Regions from separate parts of the Homo sapiens genome. Here all the other regions are linked to region 1. The links are contacts of gene promoters, found by promoter capture Hi-C in human tissues and cell types (Jung and others, 2019). All regions are on one chromosome and are shown on one strand. Each heading gives the region's core, a stretch centred on a gene start or on the middle of the fragment in contact. The rest is flanking DNA. Distances are from core to core; before and after follow the strand shown.

Evidence for each region. Contacts are between HindIII fragments. The study calls those that stand out against the background at their distance.
Region 2: a contact is called between a fragment that was not itself captured here and the fragment with the promoter of GPATCH2 in region 1, in 1 of the 25 tissues and cell types used here (mesenchymal stem cells).
Region 3: a contact is called between a fragment that was not itself captured here and the fragment with the promoter of GPATCH2 in region 1, in 1 of the 25 tissues and cell types used here (bladder).
Region 4: a contact is called between a fragment that was not itself captured here and the fragment with the promoter of GPATCH2 in region 1, in 1 of the 25 tissues and cell types used here (IMR-90 fibroblasts).

The regions. Positions count from the first base shown.
Region 1 is chr1:217,629,264-217,632,674 of GRCh38, reverse strand. It overlaps GPATCH2 (G-patch domain containing 2), which reads left to right and starts at 1,585. Exons shown (of 10, transcript NM_018040.5): 1 at 1,585-1,759. The coding sequence starts at 1,704. It overlaps SPATA17 (spermatogenesis associated 17), which reads right to left and starts at 1,331. Exons shown (of 11, transcript NM_138796.4): 1 at 1,229-1,331. The coding sequence starts at 1,296. RefSeq lists enhancers at 1,307-1,546, 1,577-1,646. The HindIII fragment of the contact is 13,029 bases long and covers 1-3,411 here.
Region 2 is chr1:216,738,323-216,741,462 of GRCh38, reverse strand. It overlaps a transcript of ESRRG not described here. Among named protein-coding and RNA genes, the nearest start is that of ESRRG, 16 kb to the right of the region's middle. RefSeq lists an enhancer at 670-1,237. The HindIII fragment of the contact is 3,332 bases long and covers 173-3,140 here.
Region 3 is chr1:217,012,344-217,015,679 of GRCh38, reverse strand. It overlaps a transcript of ESRRG not described here. Among named protein-coding and RNA genes, the nearest start is that of ESRRG, 290 kb to the right of the region's middle. The HindIII fragment of the contact is 7,901 bases long and covers 1-3,336 here.
Region 4 is chr1:216,720,663-216,723,998 of GRCh38, reverse strand. ESRRG (estrogen related receptor gamma) reads left to right here and starts at 570. Exons shown (of 7, transcript NM_001438.4): 1 at 570-755. The coding sequence starts at 700. The HindIII fragment of the contact is 4,903 bases long and covers 1-3,336 here.

The sequences.
Region 1 (3,411 bases), core at 336-2,835:
GCTATCATAGACGTTGGAGACAAAAATAATGGTGAGCAAAATAAGAGACACTGTCTCTGCTACTAGTTTAAGAGGGGAGATAGATATTATCTCATAAAAGAATGTAAAATTGAATTGTGATCAGTGCTGTAAGAGAGGTACGTTGTGAAATAATGATGTAGTAGGTGAGATAAACGTTAGAATAAAAGCAGCTCAGCAAGACCCTATCTCATTGACATATTTTCCATTGGTCTGTCATGTCACTGTATTCCATAATAGTCTAATTCACTTTTTTGCAGTTTCTTTTAAGTTACAAAAACTCCTGGGGCAATGCTTCTTTAAAATGAAACTCTTCCTGGGCAAGAAGTTTGGCTGTAGGGAGATGAAGAAGACTGCTAGTGGTTTTCTTACCCGTTATCTATTAATTAATATATTGGTACTAGTTACCGTGTCAGAATGGTTTAGACACTTTCATTTTATTTTATTTTATTTATATTTATTTATTTATTTATTGAGACAGGGTCTTAATTTGTCACCCAGGCTGGAGTGCAGTGGTACAATGTCGGGTCACTGCAACCTCTGCCTCCCAGGTTCAAGCGATTCTCCTGCCTCAGCCTCCGGACTAGCTGGGATGACAGGCATGTGCCACCATGCCCGGCTAGTTTTTGTATTTTTAATAGAGACGGGGTTTCACCATGTTGTCCTGGTTGGTCTAGAACTCCTGGCCTCAGGTGATTCGCCCCCCTCGGCCTCCCAAAGTGCTGGGATTACAGGCGTGAGCCACCACACCCGGCAGATACGTTCATTTTAAAAAGGCGAATGAGTCATAGAACAATTGAGTTTAGTGATGTTTGTAAAATAACGGAGGCTCAAATCCCTAGGTAGATGGGACACAATCTGAGTTCATTGGGCTAGTGAGTCAGGGTGACCCCCAGTCAGGGTATTGAACATAGGTTTCATCAAATTGCAGAGTGGTGATGTCGAAGAAAAAAAGCACTTTACAATTTTATCTATGCTGGGAGTTTCCTTAAATCATCTCACACTGAATATCTACGGCCCCTCTCTATTTAGAATTTCGTTGTATGGTAACAGAAACTCCCAATTATGTTTGCAGCCCATTAAGGGAAGAATTGGGTACTACTTAATGAATTAGGGTAATCGTTAAATCGTTAATTGGAAACTCCCGCTGAGGAACAACTGGTATAAAGTCACGCCCGCCCTTTACGCGATCCTTCTCTTCCTGACTTACCTGTTCCTAAAGTAGTACTGATTTCCTACAGTCGACGACCTAGCTTGCAGCCGGGCTAACGTGGCCATGGTCTCTTGGCCTTGGGTTTACAACTGGTGTTACTACCGGTCTCCATGGTAACTGGGCTAAACCATAGCTCACTCCCGGGGTTCGACTTTTTGTTCACTCCTCTTTTCTCTCATGCTGCTTTGACTTTAAGAGCACTAAAAAGAGAATTAAGAAATTTCTGTGTAGCACAAAAGTTTAATTTATTTGTCTCTGTCTCTACTGCGAGTAGGAAGAGGGGATTATAGGAAGGGGAAAGCAGTAAACGCGGAGAACTAATGGTTGCTCCGGGCATCCGGTTTCCGCCGCCTGTCGGCTTCCGGAAGCTCATCTCAAAATGCTGAACTGCTCTTTGGAAGTCGCCGGTGCTGTTGTAGTTGGAGTCTGTTCACGGGCCTGAGCTTCGAGGCCAGGCTCCCGGGTGTCGTTAATGTTCGGGGCCGCCGGGCGCCAACCGATCGGAGCTCCAGCAGCCGGGAACAGCTGGTGAGGCTGGCGGCCCTGGGGAGGGGGAGGTCAGGGAAGGGTGTGATTGCCCGAGGCCGCTCCGCTGGACCTGGAATGGAGGCGGGAGGGAGCTGTGATGGATGATCTGAAGACATCTAGGCCTTGCTCTCACTCATTCCTGGGATGCACGCAGTTTGAGGGAGCTCTTGGGTGTGTGCCAAAGATTTGTGAAAGAATACAGTAAATGTTTTCTGATTGCTTGTTTAACAATATTTTAGAAGTCAAGCTTCCTGTACTCCAGGAGCAATTCATCTCCTCATTGATTGTTGACAACACTAGGGACAGGAAGAATTTATCTTAATCCGGGCCTTATTCCCCACTCCTCTTTCAATATTTACCAGATTATACCAAGTCTTTTGGAAGATAAATTCCAGAAATCTAGAGTTCTGGAAGTTCAATCGTGGAAAACACATCACCCTCTCACCCCCTTTTTTAAAGAGAGAGGGTAACCTACCTGTTTCCACCCTCTTGAACATTCTATTCAAGTTAAAGTGAGATATGTATGGGGGCTTTCCAAGAACCTATAACTGTCAGGATTAAGTTTGGGGCTTGACTATGTCTATGGTATCATGTTAGAATAATATATTGCTTTGACTTTTCAAAGTATTTCCACAAATTAATACACTTTATCCTATGACAGCCTTGTGATAGCAGAATATCACAAGCACAGAAAATTCAAGTACCGTGTCCAAAGTTGCCCTGTACATTTTAATCCTAGAGCTAGAATCCTGATTTGGGGATTTCTAGTTGAACACTCTGTATTATCTGTCCTGTTTTTCTCCCAAGCCCTTTTCCTCCAAACATAACATAAGACAACCAGTGACACAAACAAGCAATTTCCCATTGAAAATCCTCAAACATAAAGTTCTGACCAACAGGTGAAAGAAATGTGGCTAAATGGTGCGTGTTCATTCCTAGATTCTGCAAAAATTAGAACATGAGGAATTCTAGTAGTCTGTGATCTCAGATAATTGCTTTTCCATCACCTATCACTGAAAAGTTAAAAGAATACCTTATCCAAAATATTTCTAGTTGGACCTGATCATCCTGTAGTTAATTTTATAGTGAATATAGATTTGATTATACTATTTGTAAATTATTACATTTTCCAGTGAGAAAAGTAGGGAGCATTTTTTAAATGAACCAGTTTTTAATGGTATAACTAGCATAGAATGAAATGCACAATTTTTACAGGCTTAATTTTATTAGTTTTGGCAATTGCATATACTTATGTAAACACCACACAAAACAAGATAATGGATTTGTCCATCACCCCACAGTTCCCTCTCAAGGATACCTGTCTTAATGTTTCACTGTTCATTATCTTGGTTAAGTCAGGGAGACAAAATGTCCTATGTAGATTGGTCTGCTCTTCCTAGGGTGCTATTGATTTGTAGGGTAGGTGACTACATCAGAATGTGATTGATTCTCTCAACTTCTTTTACCTTTAAAATCATGGTTAGGTACTGAGAGAAACCTCCTTCAATTCTCTTTAAAGGCTCGCTTGTCATACAACTCACCATTTCTTATGGCACCAGAGTATAACAAAGTGGTAGCACTTAGTATTTTTGAATGAAATTCTAAAGTCATTCCTGTTCTGTCAGAATGAATATGTTCCAGAAAACTGGATC
Region 2 (3,140 bases), core at 589-3,088, 890 kb after region 1:
TGTAGGGGGGTATTTTGGGGTGTGTGCAGGGGCGGGGGGGAGTGTTAGAAAGGGGTTGTGAGGTTGGTGTTTTAGCCTGAGGGGTCCACACATGTAGTGACACAGGATTGTGAACAGGTATAAAGAAATAATTATAATATAAATTATAAACATAAACTATATAATATAAATTACAAATATAAATTATATAATATAAATTATAAATATAAATTATATAATATAAATTATAAATATAAATTATATAATATAAATTATATAAATTATAAATATAAATATAATATAAATTACCCTGACCCCAAAGAGCTTTCAATCCTCTGTTTAGACAATGTTCTGTTTTTATATCCAATGCTATCCCATTATGTTGGACAGTCTTCCCATATGGGGACGGGGGCGTGAAAGAAGAGAGAGGGGGGACTGTGATAACTCAATGCCAGTTATATTTGAGAACCAATTTCGTATATGACTTTAAAAAATTTATCTGAGAATTAACACTTTAAATTCTGCCCAATGAAATAGTTAAATTCAGAAGGTGGAAAAATGAAAGAATGTCAATATGTATATATAATCCCATTTTGATAAATGTGACATGGTAAATTCAAAGCCACTCCAATAAATGTCAAGCTTAATACAGGGGCACCTCTGCCTGCAAATAATCTCTAGGAGTGAGGAAAACACTACAAATAAAAAAATGGAACACTTTAAGTTCTTGATAATTTTTTAGTTCCTCTGTCGGTGATATAGAAAGGTGTGTAGAAAGCATTATTTCTCCACAAGCATCTAAGGCAGGGTTACAATTTCTTTCTTTTTTTCTTTCTTTCTTCTTTTTTTTTTTAATGTTAAGCACGTTCCTTTGCAGGGCTTAGAAATCTCTCTCGTCCAAAATTGAACAAAAAAGGCCTCCCCTTGTGCTTTTTTTGTCAGGCTGATGAAGCTGTATAGAAATGTAAATGCAATATAAGAGATGGTAGTGGGAAGCTTGTGTTGTGCTCTCCTCTTCTCTGGGGCTCTCTTGTAAAATTATTCTCTGATTTTGCTGTGTGTGTGTGCACCTCTTGTGTAAGGGCATTTAATTAGCTACAAGTTACAACAAAGACTTTTGAAAGGAAAATGTGTCTGTGGTGCAGATGCCTTTATTTTCATTCTGTGAACAGCTAGGTTTTTAACTCCCTTATCAAGAGCTGCATGAACTGCCCAGACTAAATTGGGAACATCTCCACACTGTTTGACAAATAGATTTTTTGTAAACTGATTTAGCCTTTTCATTGTTTGCATTTCATTATATAGAAGACTTCATGTCACAAAATTGGTATTCATTCAAAATAGAGAATTTAGAGATAGGACTGTAGCCAGATAAAAAATATTGCACAGGTCGGGGCTATTAAGCATAGAATAATAGCAAGTCAGTGATCCAAGGGGCTGTTCTTCAGCAGCAAAGGGGCTAACATAGCCGAGGTCAGCAGTCAGACTCAGGACTGAAGATGTGTCTCTGGCCACATTTACAAGACAATCTGCAGGGAACAGAGTGAGGAATGAAGGAGTCTGGCAGGATAAACTGTAGGAAAGAGACGTCTTTGCATCTCAAATTTCATTCTCCTGAGGGGTCGGAGGTGGGAATTTTAACAGTTGAGAGGTGTCTTGGTCTGTTTTGAAACATTTGCGCATCAGAGTTTGGGTTCCATGGCACATATAGGAGAGCCATATTAGCAAAATAGATTTTGAGAAGGAGTTAGCAGTGAGCTGGGTTTTCATTTCTTCTAAATCTTTTAGCTTAGACCAGTGGGTCTCAAACTCGAACATGCATCAGAATCACCTGGAGGACTTGATAAAGCACAGATTGCTGAATCCTATCCCCAGGGTTTCTCTGGGGTGGCAGGGCCGAGAATTTACACTAACAGTTCCTGGATAATACTGATATTTTCCTTTGAGAACTACTGGTATAAACTCTACATACCAGTCATCAGACGATCAAATGATTTGCATTTTTAGAGCACCTATCAGTTAAACCCACTGAGCAATGAGCATTGGCAGCTCTTCACTGTTAACCTCAAATAGAAAGTCCAAAAGATCACAGAAGATAGTTTATGTGTAGGAGTTGTCTTTGTTTTGTTTTTATTTAAAAAATAGCTTATGTAGAACTATGTTTATATCACATCTTATTCTGCCTGTTTCCCACAGCTGGGGAACTTTTTTTTTTTTTTCACTTTAATGAATCTTTGGAGATACCTTTTATGCACTTGTCTCTCAGTGTCGGGATTATTTATAAAGATAAACAGGATGCAGTTTTACTCTCAAGAGGCTTACAGTCATGGGAGAATCAGATAAATACGAAGAAAACATTAATAGCATTTGGTTAGTTGAGATGATAGAGGGATGCTGAGGTCTCTATTCTACTGGGAGCCTCCCCTGACCTCCGCTCCAAGGTAAACTAAGTATTAAGGATAAGTAGGGGCTGGTTGCAGTGGGACATACCTGTAATCCCAGTGCTTTGAGAGGCTAAGGTGGTAGATCACTTCAGGCCAGAAGTTTGAAGCTGCAGAAAGCTATGATTGCACCACTGCACTCCAGTTTGGGTGACAGGCCTGGGTGACAGAGTGAGACCCTGTCTCATAAGTAAATAAATAACAAATAAAATTTTTAAAAAGGATAAGTAAGATTTTGCTAGGCAGAGAGAAGTGAAACATTAGCATGTATTCAGGAATCTGCCAGTGTTTTGAGAGTCCTAGAATTTTTTTTGTTTATAAGTGCACGCTGCTTCATCTTTCTCAGCTCTGGCATTTATTTTACTGTCTCACCATTTCATACTTTTCCCCTACTTAATCCACTTTTTCCCCTTACTACATTCTGTTTGACTGTTATTTTCTGTTAAATAAATAATCTGCATTCATTGTAAAATTATCTAAACAATACATAAGAATATAAGGAAGAAAATGAAAAGCAACTAAATTTTATTGCCTTATGATACCACAGATTTTGTTTAACCATTTCACATCTGTTTTTACTCTGAAGCATAGTATTTAGAATAGATTTTTACATTATACTCAGCTCTTCATTGATAAGCATTTTATGGTTCACTTTTTTCTCCTTAGTTGCTTGGCAGTATAGGACTTATTTTAGTAAAGTTTCATAAACTGATGGATCCC
Region 3 (3,336 bases), core at 167-2,666, 620 kb after region 1:
TATCAAACCATGCTTGCCATACGTAATTAAGATCCTCACAACTCTCTTGCATCTTGTATAGGTATTTTCAGGAGGTGAGAAAATATGATTGAGTACACAATTTTAGTTAATTAAGGAAATTTCCATGTATCAGGATGACATAAACACTTAGAGCTCCTGTGTAGAGAAAAACAACCCTATAAACCTCCTCCAATGGAATGATGAAAGAAAAGATACTAGTTTGAGCCAAGTTTCAAGGAAATAAATTTATGTTTTATATATTTTACTTTGTCTAAACTATGAGTTTAATTCTTGTTTAGGTAGTGTACATCTGAAACATTATTAAGGTGAAATTTTGCTTTTCCAGCAGTGTCTGGATGATGGCCCTTAACAAATGCAAAATTGGACATTCATGTAAAAGGAAGCAAAGAAAGACCAGTGAAGAGATGGTAGAAATTGAATGCAGCCAGAAAAACACAAAATAATGCAAACAATCAGCCCCTGCACTATTTTCAGAAATCCAGAAGCTAACCTATATGGGGTTCTGCACTGTGTGGGTATGTGGAGTAGTATAGGGAGGTACCTGTTGTCAAGAAAAGAGATGATTGGATTCGGGTTCATAGAAAGCTGAGTTTAGAGAAGGGTTGATCTTCTTTATTTTCAGAGCAGATTGTTCAATGGGGTTTCTGCTTTTTTTGGTCATTTTTCTAAGTGATGCTTGGAATGTATTCAGAATTCAATTGGTTTGGGAGCTGTAATGAATCGCTGTGGAATGAGCAACCTGAGAAATAGAAGATTTGGGGCTGATTAGGATTTGATGTAGAACTCCTGCATCTTATTTAATCATCTACTCAAATCTCCAAGAGGCTACTAAAGGTAGAGAATAAATAAATGAATAGAGATAAAAATAATTGAACCCAACTTAAGTCTAAGATAACTTATATGCTCCTCTTTTAACTTGCATGTATTTTCTCATCTCCTGAATTTCCTCTTTAACATCCTAAGATGAAGAAGTTGCCCAGTAAATAAAGCACCAGGATGGAGCTTATAGGTCGCCCAAGTCCATGGTCACACTAGTTGAATGTTTCTTTGGGATGACTGTTGGATGCCTTTTATTACTTTGATTTCCTTACCTGTATGATTTTATAGAGGACCAGTATCATAGGGGAAATGTGGAGAGCAAACAACCAATGAGAGAAAGCCATATTGGAAAGCACTTGTTTTAAAGAAAAAAGTTATGAATCCATATGCAGAACAGAGCAGTACAGAATGAAAACTATTGCAGGTTTTGATAGGTATGTTAGAAAAGAGTCACTGAACAATTTCCTATTAATTCTGGGGCACTTATACTATTTTTAAAATATCCCACAAACCTTTGCCTGACAAAAGAAGAGTAGGAAATAAAGCCTTAGTCTCTGCAATGACAGCTGTTCCCATAGCAACCTGTCTGTCAGTCAACACCCACTTCATCCAGCTTCAGAAAACACCCCCAGAAATAAATGTCAAAAGTCTTATGCAGGTTCCAAATTTAAATCAAACTTTAAAATAAATTAAAATAAGAACCCAAACACCCACAGCAGTCACAAAAGTAAATTTTGGAAGGAGGGAAAGGGGGTAAAAAACAAAGGTCAAAGGAATCCTCCAAGCAGATGCAGGAAGTCAAAGAAGGGTGGATAGGCACCCTTCACTCCTTTTGGAGCATTGCTCTGATAAAGCATTATTTACCTAGGTGGGCACTAAATGCAATCCGTTCATATCTTGTTCCTCTTGCTTTAATAGTTGGCTTTCATTTTCATGATCATCAAATCATATTTACCCTCCTCATTCACTCTGGTGTGCTAATGTTTCAGCCCCTCATTTTAATGGTAGGAGGTAACAAGATTCTAATTACCAGTCAGGGAGCACTGTGCTTGGCCACTCTTTCAGGGGGGATGACATTTAGCTAATAGTGACTGGCCCTTCTAGCAATTAAAATGATCTCACATGCCATCCTTAGGTCCTGTGTTGCTAATGTATACTTCAAAAAGTAAGCACTAAACAATCTTTTATCCAGAGATGAAATACATTTAAAGCCTAATGTCACACTTCAGGGGTAAGTGATAGGTCTTAACCTCTCTTTTCTGTGAGCCCTAAATTATCTGGCAGAGAGGCATTTAAAGGAACTATAGATTGTCAGAGATTATGGACTGTCTGTCCTTCAAAAAGCTGTAATGTATTGAGTTTACTTGTTCAAATGTCCATGGACATGGAAGCAAAACAACAAAAGTTATGCAATTTTACATTATTCTTTGCCAAATTTATACTTGTTACTTAACATCATGTTAGTTCTCAATCTGTTTTTTGCATTAGTGTAATGCAGTCTTCAAACACCCCTTTGACATCCTAAGGTAATATCTGCTTTGCTCAGTGAACTAATGGTCACCTTAGCTGCACATACTTTTTCTTAGCATCTAATAAAGAGAGCTGCTTATAGTTTTGTTATGGGTTGAATTGTATACTCCAAGAAAGATATTTTGGAGTCCTAACCTCCAGTACAGAGGAATGTGATCCCGTTTGGGGATAGAGCCTTTCCAGAGGTAATCAAGTTCAAATGATGCAATTAGGGTGAGCTCCAATCCAGGATTATCCTCTTATAAAAAAGGAGAAATTTGGACACAGAGACAACATGCATAGAAGGAAGACATGATATGAAGAAACTCATGGAGAAGACAACCATCTGTAAGCCAAGAAGAAGAGCCTGGAACATTTTCTCACAACCCTCAGAAGGAACCACCCCTATCAACACCTTGATTTTGAACTTCTGAGTTGTAGAGCTGAGATAATATATTACTGTGGTTTAAGCCACTCAGTTTGTGGTACTTTGTTACAATAGCCCTAGGGCAAACTATGAATAGAAATCCTGAGGATATAATACAGTAATATTCAAAGAACTCAGAAAAAAAAGGAGCAGGGATTCTTGCTCACTGGTCTGTGTATGAAATTAGCTTGAGAACTCTCTGGCCAAATTGTAGCTACTGAGGGCAAAGTGGGAGGCCAGTGGGGAGAGGCAGCTTGAGGAACCTGTGGAAGGAAAGGACGGAAGAAGTGTTCTTGTACTCTGTAATTTCCTTAGCCTAAACTTAGCCTCTGAGTTTGCCTTTTCTAAATTGCCAGTGTCAGTGTCATTTTCTTGCTATCAGTAACTCGAAACAAGGGTTTTCTAATACTATCTAGTTAGGAGCTATTTCAAATGCTATCAAGCTAGGTATGTAGCAGTAGCAGTTTCCAAGATAACAGGTGGGATTCATGAGCTTCTTTTTCCCACATTTTATGCATTGAGAGTTTGGGGTCCCTGTGATCACATCTTATCATTTTTAT
Region 4 (3,336 bases), core at 328-2,827, 910 kb after region 1:
AAAGACATGATTAGGAATACATGAGAAAGTACAGCACCAAATAAGCCGCGGCCCCCGGTGTAATAAAAACACAGACAACGGCAGGACAAACTTAATTCTCTACCTTCCGCAGAATCCTTTCCCAAATTAACTGAGAGTCTGCGTGAGTTCTCCTTTTCAAGGCAAAAGAGATCTTAGGTTAGAAATCAAAGGCAAATCCCTCCAGTGCTTAGAGAGTTAAGTTAGTTATGTTTCTTTTGTAGCTTCCCAGAAGAAAAAAAAAAGAAAGAGAGAGAAGGGAGGAAAAAAAATCAAACCCGAGAGTGTGTATTGGGAGCGTTTCAATCGCTCCCTTCTCCGCTCCCTTTTTCTCTGCCCACTCTCAGTTTCCAGCCCCCTTCGGCTCTCTGCACCCTGCCTACCTGCCTGGCTCCTCTCGCTCCGTGCAGCCTCCCGTCGCCTCCCTCCTGATTGGGCAGAGGCCCCCCAATCGGCTGCGCGGCTGGGCCGGTGGGACTGCATATGTAAAGCCCTACTTCATATTAATAAGCTCCAATCGGGGCTTTAAGTCCTTGATTAGGAGAGTGTGAGAGCTTTGGTCCCAACTGGCTGTGCCTATAGGCTTGTCACTAGGAGAACATTTGTGTTAATTGCACTGTGCTCTGTCAAGGAAACTTTGATTTATAGCTGGGGTGCACAAATAATGGTTGCCGGTCGCACATGGATTCGGTAGAACTTTGCCTTCCTGAATCTTTTTCCCTGCACTACGAGGAAGAGTAGGTACCTTTTTTCTTTCCTTTTTAAACTCGTCGTGGGGGTGCGGGGGTGGGGGCGGACAGACTATATCTTTACACACTGATTCAGGTAATGCCCTGGGTATTTTGTGTGCACGACTGCTTGTTTGTGTCTGTCTTGTGTCTTTTGTGTTGAGGGTGATCTCCTAATTCAGTAAGTCGAGAATTGTTCTCTGACTACAATGTTACCTTTGAGGCAAAGCTCAGTGACTGTCAGTAAAACAGCTGTGTGACAGTCACTTCTTATTCAGGTGCTAAGAATAGGCACTTGGCACAAATGCTTAGTGAACTGTTAAAATGCATCTTTTACTAGGACCCATTTTCCCAAGGAAAGATGTTTTAAAATACAATATTCAAAATGATTTATACTATTGAGGGCCTCTTATGTATTTGCAGTTTGACAGATATTTTCAGCTCCTTGTCATTTCTTACCGCGCAGAGTTAGAGGCAAAATTGCACATTTACTAATTCTCCTTCAGAGAACAATTTAAAAGCTAGCCCTATGCAATTCTGAGCTAGAATAATGTTATTTGCATGGTTAGCGTTAAGTCAGCACTTAACTGACAAATCAGTCCATTAAGTAACATGAGATTTTCACACATTATAAATATTTAAGGGGGGAAAAAAAACTAAAGAAGAAACAGTAGTGACTTTAAAATTTTCCCCTTAAATACTGCTCAGAGTGTGGATTTGTCTCGTTTGTTGTGTCCAGAAAATATAGAAAAGTACTTTCGTTCTTACAAGCAGTTTAATTAGTATTTATGGATATCTTTATGCACATGGAAATATATATTTAGATTACTAAAGGGGGGGGAGTGAGTAGGGGGTACGAGAAGTAAGTTAGGCATTTTTGTGTAAATGAGTAGGTGATAAACTTAATTTCAACCTACTGTTAAGATAAAATGTTAGTATATCACGAGAGCTGTCACTGGTTTATCTCCCTTTCTGTTGAGTCAGTTATATTGCTTTGCTTTCACATTACAGTAATACCAACTGTTATAATTCTGAAAAGAGTGCCCTTGGCAAACATTTCTCTCTATAGATTGTGAAGAAAATATCAAACTCTAGAAGATGAGGTAGTGCATTATAGGTAGATGTCCACTAGCTGTCCTTAGTGACTGCATATTGCATTGCTTTGTAATTAAGTAAGAGATGAAAAGTGACTTGCAGTCTCAGTGGCTGCTCCTGTATGTTTGAGCGTGAGTGTGAGTGTGTGTGTGTATGCACGCTCACACATGCACATCCACCCACATCCATGCTCACACAGGGAATATTAGCCAAGAGATGGATTTAGGAGGAACTGAAAGATTATAAGGCTGTGCTTGCATCAGTTTGAAACACTCAAGGGAAGAAACAACCTTAAGATGTGTAAAAATAAAAATGAAAAATAAACAAAGGTAAGACTGCCCGCTCAAGTGTAGTTTGAAGGTTAGTGTACTTCGGGCTGTAGAATTGGAGAGTTTAAGACGTCTTCGTGTCAGGAAGAATGTCTTATCCAAGCACGCCCAGATTCTGAACTTTCTCTTGTAAATAAATAAAGAAAACAAACTTTAAAAATCCCCCAGAGGCTTCTTTTTGAAGTAGTTTCCTTGAATTTAACTTCTTATAGCTAATTTGAATAATTCGTTTAGATAAGCCTCTTAAAGCAGATGCATTTAAATGAAGTCAAGGCACATGTCCTTTTGGCTTTGGCGCAAGATTCAAACTAGCTTTCTTTTGGGCTCAATTAAAAGTCATCTTTAAAAAATACAGATTTATTGTCTGGATGCAGTTCTGATGGTTACGTGGTTCACTGGACAGACAGAAAGATCTAACGCTAAGCAACGCATCTGCCTCTCTGTCTCAATTAATAAACCACAGAATTTATACATGCTATTAATATTCATAGTAATTGTACCGGGTTAAACCCCATCACGTGTGTGTATACACAGAAATGAAACCAGAGTTATACAGTTTTAGGGGCAAATATTGGACAGTTTCTGCTTTGGAGGCTGTTAAAAAGATTCATACCATTTATTGACCACCATTAAGAGAGCTTAAAATGTTAACCTCTAACTATGTATTTTTTTATTTTAGGAAATGTGCCAGCACATTAAAGAACATAATACTTGAAAGCTTGTTTCACATTTAATAGCAGTAATAGCTGATAGCATAAATAGATGAAAATAATATATCTGCTCATTTTGACATATGTGTCAGTCTAATCATTCTAAATGAGTGTGCTCATCACATGAATCCCTTTCAACCTCTGATTAAAATGTAACATTGACTACAGGATTATAGAGCGGACTTAATTTTACTGACTGTTTTAACAGTTGTCACAGCTGTTGGAAGAAGGAAAGGCAACTGAAACACTCCAAAACAGACAAGGCGAGGAGGGAACAGTTTAGTAAATTTCAGCCTGATCACTGAAGTCCAGACATTGAAAATTTAAGTTTCGTGTTTTAAGATTCGTGTTTGGAGCTACACAAGTTTTATTTTGTATGTTTCACTCTTTCTGTTTCAGGGTTTTCATGTTTTTTCTTTTTCTCATCTCTTCTTTTTAAAATCTATACTAATTAAA